Regions from separate parts of the Homo sapiens genome. Here region 1 is linked to region 2. Evidence: promoter capture Hi-C in 16 types of primary human blood cells and fetal thymus (Javierre and others, 2016). All regions are on one chromosome and are shown on one strand. Each heading gives the region's core, a stretch centred on a gene start or on the middle of the fragment in contact. The rest is flanking DNA. Distances are from core to core; before and after follow the strand shown.

Region 1 (3,748 bases), core at 817-3,316, 240 kb after region 2:
AAGATTCAAATCCTGGTCTTCTAAGTCTGAAATCTCTGTACTGTTTTCCAGTGTGATGAGCTATCCCATGGGACCTTAGGAACTACTGTGCTGGGGTCCAAAAATGGCTCAGTGAACTAAAGCCACTTCCACCTTTTATTTGTAGTTTGATCCAAATACAGTGAACAGCAGGAAAGGAAAAGTCTGGATGGTCTGAAAAAGTCTGGGAAAAGTGCTGGGAGGCTACATTTTGCTTCAGGGCTGAGCTGGGACGTCAGCATAGCCTCAGGAAGACTGAGGCTGTGGAGCTGAAGGGCTCCAGCACCAAGAGCCCAGAACTCCAGCCACATGTCGGCACCTAGGCCTCCTTGGAGCTCTAGCTCCTGCCCTTGTCAGCTGCAGATGCCTCAGGTAGGGAAATATAAGGACTCTTTCCCTCCCTATTCTTGATGACCACAAGGGGGAATCTTCCATCTGGCAGTTATGGGCCCTGAGGGAATCTGAGCCTGGGCAAAGGGCCCAGCGTGTCAGTTCCCATCATAGCCACACTGTCCAGCATGAGTCACCACACACGTAGCCAGGTGAGTCATACAGGCTGACGGACGCTGAGGACAGGACAAGAGGTGGTTGGGCACCGGAGACTGGAGAGGGGCCCAGGGAAGGGCCAAAGAATCCATCTCCTGGCCATTCATGCAGTTAAGTTTCTGTGCCGATGCAGGGCTGTTCTGGTCACAGGATCCCTGTTCCACTCTGGCCTTCAGTAGCCCCCAATCCCTTCCAATAGTCCTCTTCTCAGAAGGCCAGTCATCACTAGAATCCTGTTCCCCTTCTCTAAACATGGGCAAGACCTCATCTTAATGTGATCACTCTTTGCACCCCAATGTTCTAAGGCCTTCTGACATTCCCCCTCTAAGACTTACTTATCTTCATGCCATCCTCTTACATTAGCTAACTTGCAAAATGAAGATGGTAACAAATGCAGGTAGGTCACTGCATTACCTCTGTGAGGTTAGTACTCAATCACTGCATTTGGAGTGACTGGTATCTGATCACTCCAAATGGATCAGGATGGAGTGATCAGATACCAATATACTAACCTTGGAGATACATATTTAGGCAGTAAATGATAACAAAAGCAAATGAACGATATAAACAAAACTCAGGAAATTTTGGGTGAATTACGGAGAGGCACTCAAGAGGTCTCAAAGCTGATTACTGACACAGGAGTGTTCAGTTTTAATGCCATTTAAACTGTACATACACATCTTAATCATTCTTTTGTATGTTTCACAATAAAAAATACCAAGAAAAACTGGGGTAAGAGTCTTGATTCAGCACTTATTAGGTGTGATCTAATGTGGACTCAAGTAACCCTCCTAGCTCACACACCTTTGTGGGGGCCCTATGCCATAACGTATATGAAAGTGCTTTGCATACGGTAAAATGTTTTCCAAGTTGAGGCCTCCTGGGGCAATGCCTTTATCCTTCAGGGCTGACTGTTCAGCTTTTTGAGGACTTTGAAATCCTAAAACCCTACTGCACAGCTTGGCCAACTACGCATACCCCTTAAAAACAGCCTTGGGGACCACCCTCCAAAACAGACTGGGGACAGTGTAGGATGAAAGACAGCCAACCCTTCAAGAGAGCCGAATAGAAACAGGAAGTGAGGGTGGTGCAGTGGGGCAAGCCTCTGGCTTCCAAATCAGTCTGCCCTGGTCCCACTCAAGTCCTAGAGGGACACTCACCAGCTGTCAGGACCTGTACTTTCCACGGGTGAGCGGCCAGGGCCCGCTGGTATGCCCGCCAGAGTGCCATGCTTCCTGTCAAGCCAAGAGGAGAGGGGGTCACCCCCACCGTCCCTCTCCACGACTAAGAAGCCGCCTGACATTCCCTTGTGCCCACTCCCTTCCCCTTCCCACTTCCAATGTGACTTAAAGGGGCAGAGGCCACATGAAGGATGCTTCCCAGACAGCTTCCTGTCGCAGGAGTCGCCTTAGACAATTGGGGAAGAGAGAAAGGCTGTGGGAAGCTATGGACTCCTGGTAGCAGCCACCAGCCACCCCAACCTCATTCCTGAAGCCAGACCACCTGGAAGCCTCCGTTCCCGACGGAGACACTCATGAGGACAGCTTTGCTCTGGCTTCTACCCAGAGCTTGGGTGCCTCAAAAGATAGCTTGGTCCGTCTCCAGATTCAGACTTGGTTGGAACCAGTTTGTAACCTTCCTGAGTCCAGCTCCAAACCGAAAATAGGGCCCGTCACTGCCCGGATATAGGATGACCACACACCTTGTGGGCACTCATGGCTTGCGACGCTTTAAGCCAGAGACCGCAGATCACCCGCCACTCACCTGAGCGCCGAGCCTCCCTCCCACGTGACAGGCTGGCCTAGGAACTTCCGCCACAAGTCCCGCCCCTTCCTCCCAGCGTCCTTCGGATTACGCAGCCAGGACAGGAATGGGGGTGGACCGAGCCATGAATACCCGTGGAGAGCGGCCTAACTCGGCCACCCACTCTGTGAGAGACCCCTTTTCCAGCTGGACTGTGCCGGACCCTGGTGTGGGGCCCGCCAGCCATATTTCTCACCTAAGTTCGACCCTCTGCCTCCTCCTGCCCCTTCTCTCCGCGCGAGACCCGGGCCTCTCTCAATCCGGTAGTCTCATTGTTCAGCCCACCCTCCCCGCATAACTGGCCATAACTACGATCCTTGTCTCAGCAATCGTAGTTAGGGAACTATAAGTTATAGTTAAGTGCGTGTTTTGTCTCTAGGTTCTTCACTGGCCTCAACTGTGAGCTCATGAGTGGGTAAAACTGGGGTCGTTCATATTTGTCGTCCTCATAGCAACTATTTCAGTGCTTTGCCGCAAACAGCCACTTAAGAAATACTGCGTATGTATGATTCTTCCACAGAAAGCATTGGAATTAGAACCTCAGAAGACATTAGGTATTGGCTCCCAAACTAACGGGCTGTGCAGCCTTGGTCATGACTAGACTTGATGTTAAGGCTCTGCATCTGTAAAATGAGGGAGGTTACACTATTGACTTTCCAAACTCGGCTCCTCAGTTCTAGGGATTTTTCAGATGTTTGTGTGTGGGGATGAGAGGGGCAGCATTACTACAGCTGCTTCTCCAACTTTTTTTTCCAAGTATATACTTCTCAAAAGACCCATTTTTAACGGGGCCCACAACTGCATGTTTGAAAACCAGTAAGCTAGGTGATTTCTTAATCCCCTTCCAGCTCTAACATTCTAAGAGTCTGTGAATATAGAGCAATATCCTTTCTAGAGCGTTGGAAATGTCTACAATATCCCTGGCAATGGACTTGTCAGGCTGGCAGGCTTTACTTATCTCCAGGGAGCCCACACGTCAGGAGGCACACTCTTTCAGGCTCTCCACCTGCCCAGCTCCACCCCCAATTTACTCAATTCCTTTATGATTAAGGCAGGGAGACTCCTGCCACAAATCCTGGAGAAACAGAGTAAGGAAGCAAGAGAAGTCAATGTCACAAACATTTAACTAAAATGCTATTTGCAAAACAGCATGCTAGAGGAGTGAACTGACAAAAGTAAATGTAATAGGAGACCAAATGTGGTAGGCTGTAAAGTTATATTCTGAAGTTAGACTGAGTTCAAATCCCCAGCACCACCACTTACTAGTTATATGACCTTGACCTTTTACAGACAGCTTACCCTCTCCAACTCTTTTATCATTAAGTAAAATGGCAATACCTACCTCATACAAGTGACACATGCGAAGTGCCTAAAATGGATC
Region 2 (3,911 bases), core at 566-3,065:
TTATTTCTCACTGCTCCCTTTCCTCTTCTCACAGGTCCTCAAGGTGAACAGGGTGAGTGCCTTTCATTTGATTCTGGAGGGAGAAGTGACTAGGGGTTGGAGGATAGAGGTCCTCGGGCAGCCCTGGGCTGGGGATCCAGCAGGGGAAGGGGGCTGGCACTCTGCCCTGAGCATCCCCTTTAACATCCACCCTTCCCACTCAGGAGTGGAGGGGGCACCAGCAGCCCCTGTGCCCCAAGTGGCATTTTCAGCTGCTCTGAGTTTGCCCCGGTCTGAACCAGGCACGGTCCCCTTCGACAGAGTCCTGCTCAATGATGGAGGCTATTATGATCCAGAGACAGGTAGTCCTGGGAGGGGCTGGGTTGAACGGTTGGAGAAATGGGTGAGGTGTGCAGTGATATCTTCCCATTCTTGCCTTTTCCGACAGTGTGAATCTTCATTCTCTGATTTGGGGAGACCCCGGCTCTTTCTTCATTTATTCATTCTCAGGCAGTGGGGAGAAGAAGTAGTCATTCATTCATTCAGCAGATCTTTACTGGGGCCTGCTCCTGCCCAGGCACTGTTTTAAGTGCTGGGAATGCATAGTGAACAAAGCCCCCAGTTCCCTGCCGCTCACATTCCAGTGAGGTGAAAAGACCCAGAGGGTCCCTCCTCAGTCCAGGAGTTCTGGTGCGCTCCCCGGAGCTTCCCTGGCCCCCCTGACTGCTATCCTTGTCCCCAGGCGTGTTCACAGCGCCACTGGCTGGACGCTACTTGCTGAGCGCGGTGCTGACTGGGCACCGGCACGAGAAAGTGGAGGCCGTGCTGTCCCGCTCCAACCAGGGCGTGGCCCGCGTAGACTCCGGTGGCTACGAGCCTGAGGGCCTGGAGAATAAGCCGGTGGCCGAGAGCCAGCCCAGCCCGGGCACCCTGGGCGTCTTCAGCCTCATCCTGCCGCTGCAGGCCGGGGACACGGTCTGCGTCGACCTGGTCATGGGGCAGCTGGCGCACTCGGAGGAGCCGCTCACCATCTTCAGCGGGGCCCTGCTCTATGGGGACCCAGAGCTTGAACACGCGTAGACTGGGGTCCCGCCCGACGTGTCTACGTCGGCTGAAGAGACAGCGGGGGCGGCGGGCTCCTGGGGTCTCGCCTGAGACGGGGCACCTAGCCCTGGGCGAGCGCCGCACCCGGGCCCGCAGCGGCACCGCGCCCAGAGCGGCCTCTCCCCACGCCCGGGGCGCGCCGGCTCAGGGAGGCTCGGGGCCGCCCATGCAGACTTTTGGCCTGGCGCGATCCCCCAAGAACCCCTCCAGGGCCGGCCTGCGGAGGAGCCGATCCTCGCACCCTCCGCTCCCTCCACTGGCCCTCCAGGTCGATTCCCTGGGCTCCAGGCTCCCCCGCGCGGGCGCCGCCCACCGCCATACTAAACGATCGAGGAATAAAGACACTTGGTTTTTCTAAAAAAAACTAAACGAACCGTTCTGCTACGGTACGGGGTCGGGGGCTGCCGGGCGTGCACAGGGCACGGGGCGGGAGAGACGACGGCCTCCGGAGAGGACCCCGGGTTCCGCACTGCGTTCGCCGCCTCCGCCCGGCTCGGGGCGGCTCGGGGTTGGCTCAGGCAGCAAGCGGCGCCCGCCCGGCTCCTGCGACGTCTCCCCCGTGTCACGCCCGTTTCGCCGGCGTCCGCCAGGGGGCGCTCTGCGTTCCCGCCACGTGAGGCTGCGGCCCACCCGGCGGGTCCTGCTCCTCCGCGGCGGAGGCGTGGCCTCGGCTGGGACTAACCGGGGCGGGGCGGGGCGGGGCGGGGCGGGGCCGCCGCGACCGCGGGCTTCAGGCAGGGCTGCAGATGCGAGGCCCAGCTGTACCTCGCGTGTCCCGGGTCGGGAGTCGGAGACGCAGGTGCAGGAGAGTGCGGGGCAAGTAGCGCATTTTCTCTTTGCATTCTCGAGATCGCTTAGCCGCGCTTTAAAAAGGTTTGCATCAGCTGTGAGTCCATCTGACAAGCGAGGAAACTAAGGCTGAGAAGTGGGAGGCGTTGCCATCTGCAGGCCCAGGCAACCTGCTACGGGAAGACCGGGGACCAAGACCTCTGGGTTGGCTTTCCTAGACCCGCTCGGGTCTTCGGGTGTCGCGAGGAAGGGCCCTGCTCCTTTCGTTCCCTGCACCCCTGGCCGCTGCAGGTGGCTCCCTGGAGGAGGAGCTCCCACGCGGAGGAGGAGCCAGGGCAGCTGGGAGCGGGGACACCATCCTCCTGGATAAGAGGCAGAGGCCGGGAGGAACCCCGTCAGCCGGGCGGGCAGGAAGCTCTGGGAGTAGCCTCATGGAAGAGAAGCAGATCCTGTGCGTGGGGCTAGTGGTGCTGGACGTCATCAGCCTGGTGGACAAGTACCCTAAGGAGGACTCGGAGATAAGGTAGGGGCGCCCAGGTCCCCTAGGGGACCCCAGGGGCTGCTGCAGTCCAGCATTTGTGCCAGCGACCGAGGCTGCAGAGACCCCGCAGTGAGGCCCTGAGAACCCGGCTTCAAGGCCGGACCCGCGCCCTCTACCCGGGAATCCTGGGGGGGCTCCCAGCATGACAGAAGAGAGGAAGGAATTGAGGCCTTTAATAAGAAGACCCAGGATTTAATAGCATCGTGTTAGCCAATTTCCATTTCAACTCAGGCATCAGGTGTCAGGTGTCAGGCATCAGGATCCCCATTTTACTGATAAGTATAGATTCAGAGACCAAGGGGCTTATCCAGGGGCACACAGCTACCTGCTTCTGCTGTTTCTTTTTAAACCCCAAGCCTATGCACTTGCCTCTCATCAACATTTACTTCTAACTTATTTATCCACATATCTCGCACCTATTTCTGAGAAAGATTTGAGGTAGCTTACAGTAAAAAGTATGTACAGTTAAACTGTTGGAGAACATTTAAGACCATGGTATTTGAGCTTCAACTATAGCTCAGGGCTTGCTGGCACTGGAGGCAAACATGAGATGCCATGGGTTATGTATGGATAGAGCTGGTTCATGAGCCCTGGCAAGCTTTTTCCTGGTGCTAAATTCCAAGAGGAGTTTACCAGAAGTCCTTTTCACAGAGGTCAATGAACACCGTTTAGTAGTGGGAAATATCTTTCTCAGTTGTCTGCTAGAAACTGAAGAGTCAGTTGTTGGTTCTTTTTTTTTTTTTTTTTTTTTTTTTTTGAGACAGGGTCTCATTCTGTCGTCCAGGCTGGAGTGCAGTGGTGCAACCATGCTCACTGCAGCCTTGACCTCCAGACTCAAGTGATCCTCCCACCTCAGCCTCCTGAGTAGCTGGGACCACACATGCACGTCACCATCCCAGCTGTATTTTAAATTTTGTATAAGGGACGGGTTCTCACTATACTGATCAGAGTGGTCTTGAGCTCCTGGGCTCAAGCAGTCCTCCTGCTTTGGCCTCTCAAAGTACTGGGATTACAGGCATGAGCCACTGCACCCAGCCGATTTGTTGGTTCTTTTTCTTTTTGAGACAGAGTCTCGCTCTGTTGCCCAGGCTGGAATGCAGTGGCATGATCTTGGCTCACTGCAACCTCCGCCTCCTGGATTCAAGCGATTCTCCTGCCTCAACCTCCTGGGTAGCTGGGATTATAGGCATACGCCACCATGCCCCACTAATTTTTTTTTTCTTTTGTAGAGACAGGGCTTTTCTTTGTAAAGACATGTTGGCCATGCTGGTCTCAAACTTCTAATCTCAAGTGATCTGCCCGTCTCAGTCCCCCAAAGTGCTGGGATTACAGGCATGAGCCACCACACCCGGCTTATTGGTTCTTGTATTTCCTCTTGATAAGGGCCCCACCATTACACTGTAATGCTGTGAAGGCATTTCTGTGGGGCGGGACACTAGCTTTCTCTTGGTGCAGTCAGTGAGTGCTTAGAACACTGAGAATTGCTCCTGGGCTATAT

Evidence for each region. The method cuts DNA at HindIII sites, captures the fragments that hold promoters and counts their contacts. A CHiCAGO score of 5 or more calls a contact.
Region 1: a contact is called between a fragment that was not itself captured here and the fragment with the promoter of KHK in region 2, in 14 of 17 cell types (naive B cells, naive CD4 T cells, naive CD8 T cells and 11 more). The highest score is 11.3, in naive B cells.

What each region holds. Positions count from the first base shown.
Region 1 is chr2:27,320,724-27,324,471 of GRCh38, forward strand. MPV17 (mitochondrial inner membrane protein MPV17) reads right to left here and starts at 2,374. Exons shown (of 8, transcript NM_002437.5): 1 at 2,329-2,374; 2 at 1,725-1,799. The coding sequence starts at 1,794. RefSeq lists enhancers at 1,769-1,818, 1,829-1,918, 1,929-1,978, 2,029-2,088, 2,211-3,183 and 3 more. The HindIII fragment of the contact is 4,230 bases long and covers 1-3,748 here.
Region 2 is chr2:27,084,957-27,088,867 of GRCh38, forward strand. It overlaps KHK (ketohexokinase), which reads left to right and starts at 1,816. Exons shown (of 8, transcript NM_006488.3): 1 at 1,816-2,395. The coding sequence starts at 2,304. It overlaps EMILIN1 (elastin microfibril interfacer 1), which reads left to right. Exons shown (of 8, transcript NM_007046.4): 6 at 35-52; 7 at 204-341; 8 at 722-1,447. The coding sequence ends at 1,059. RefSeq lists enhancers at 800-1,019, 2,010-2,069 and silencers at 1,150-1,309, 1,360-1,819. The HindIII fragment of the contact is 6,666 bases long and covers 1-3,009 here.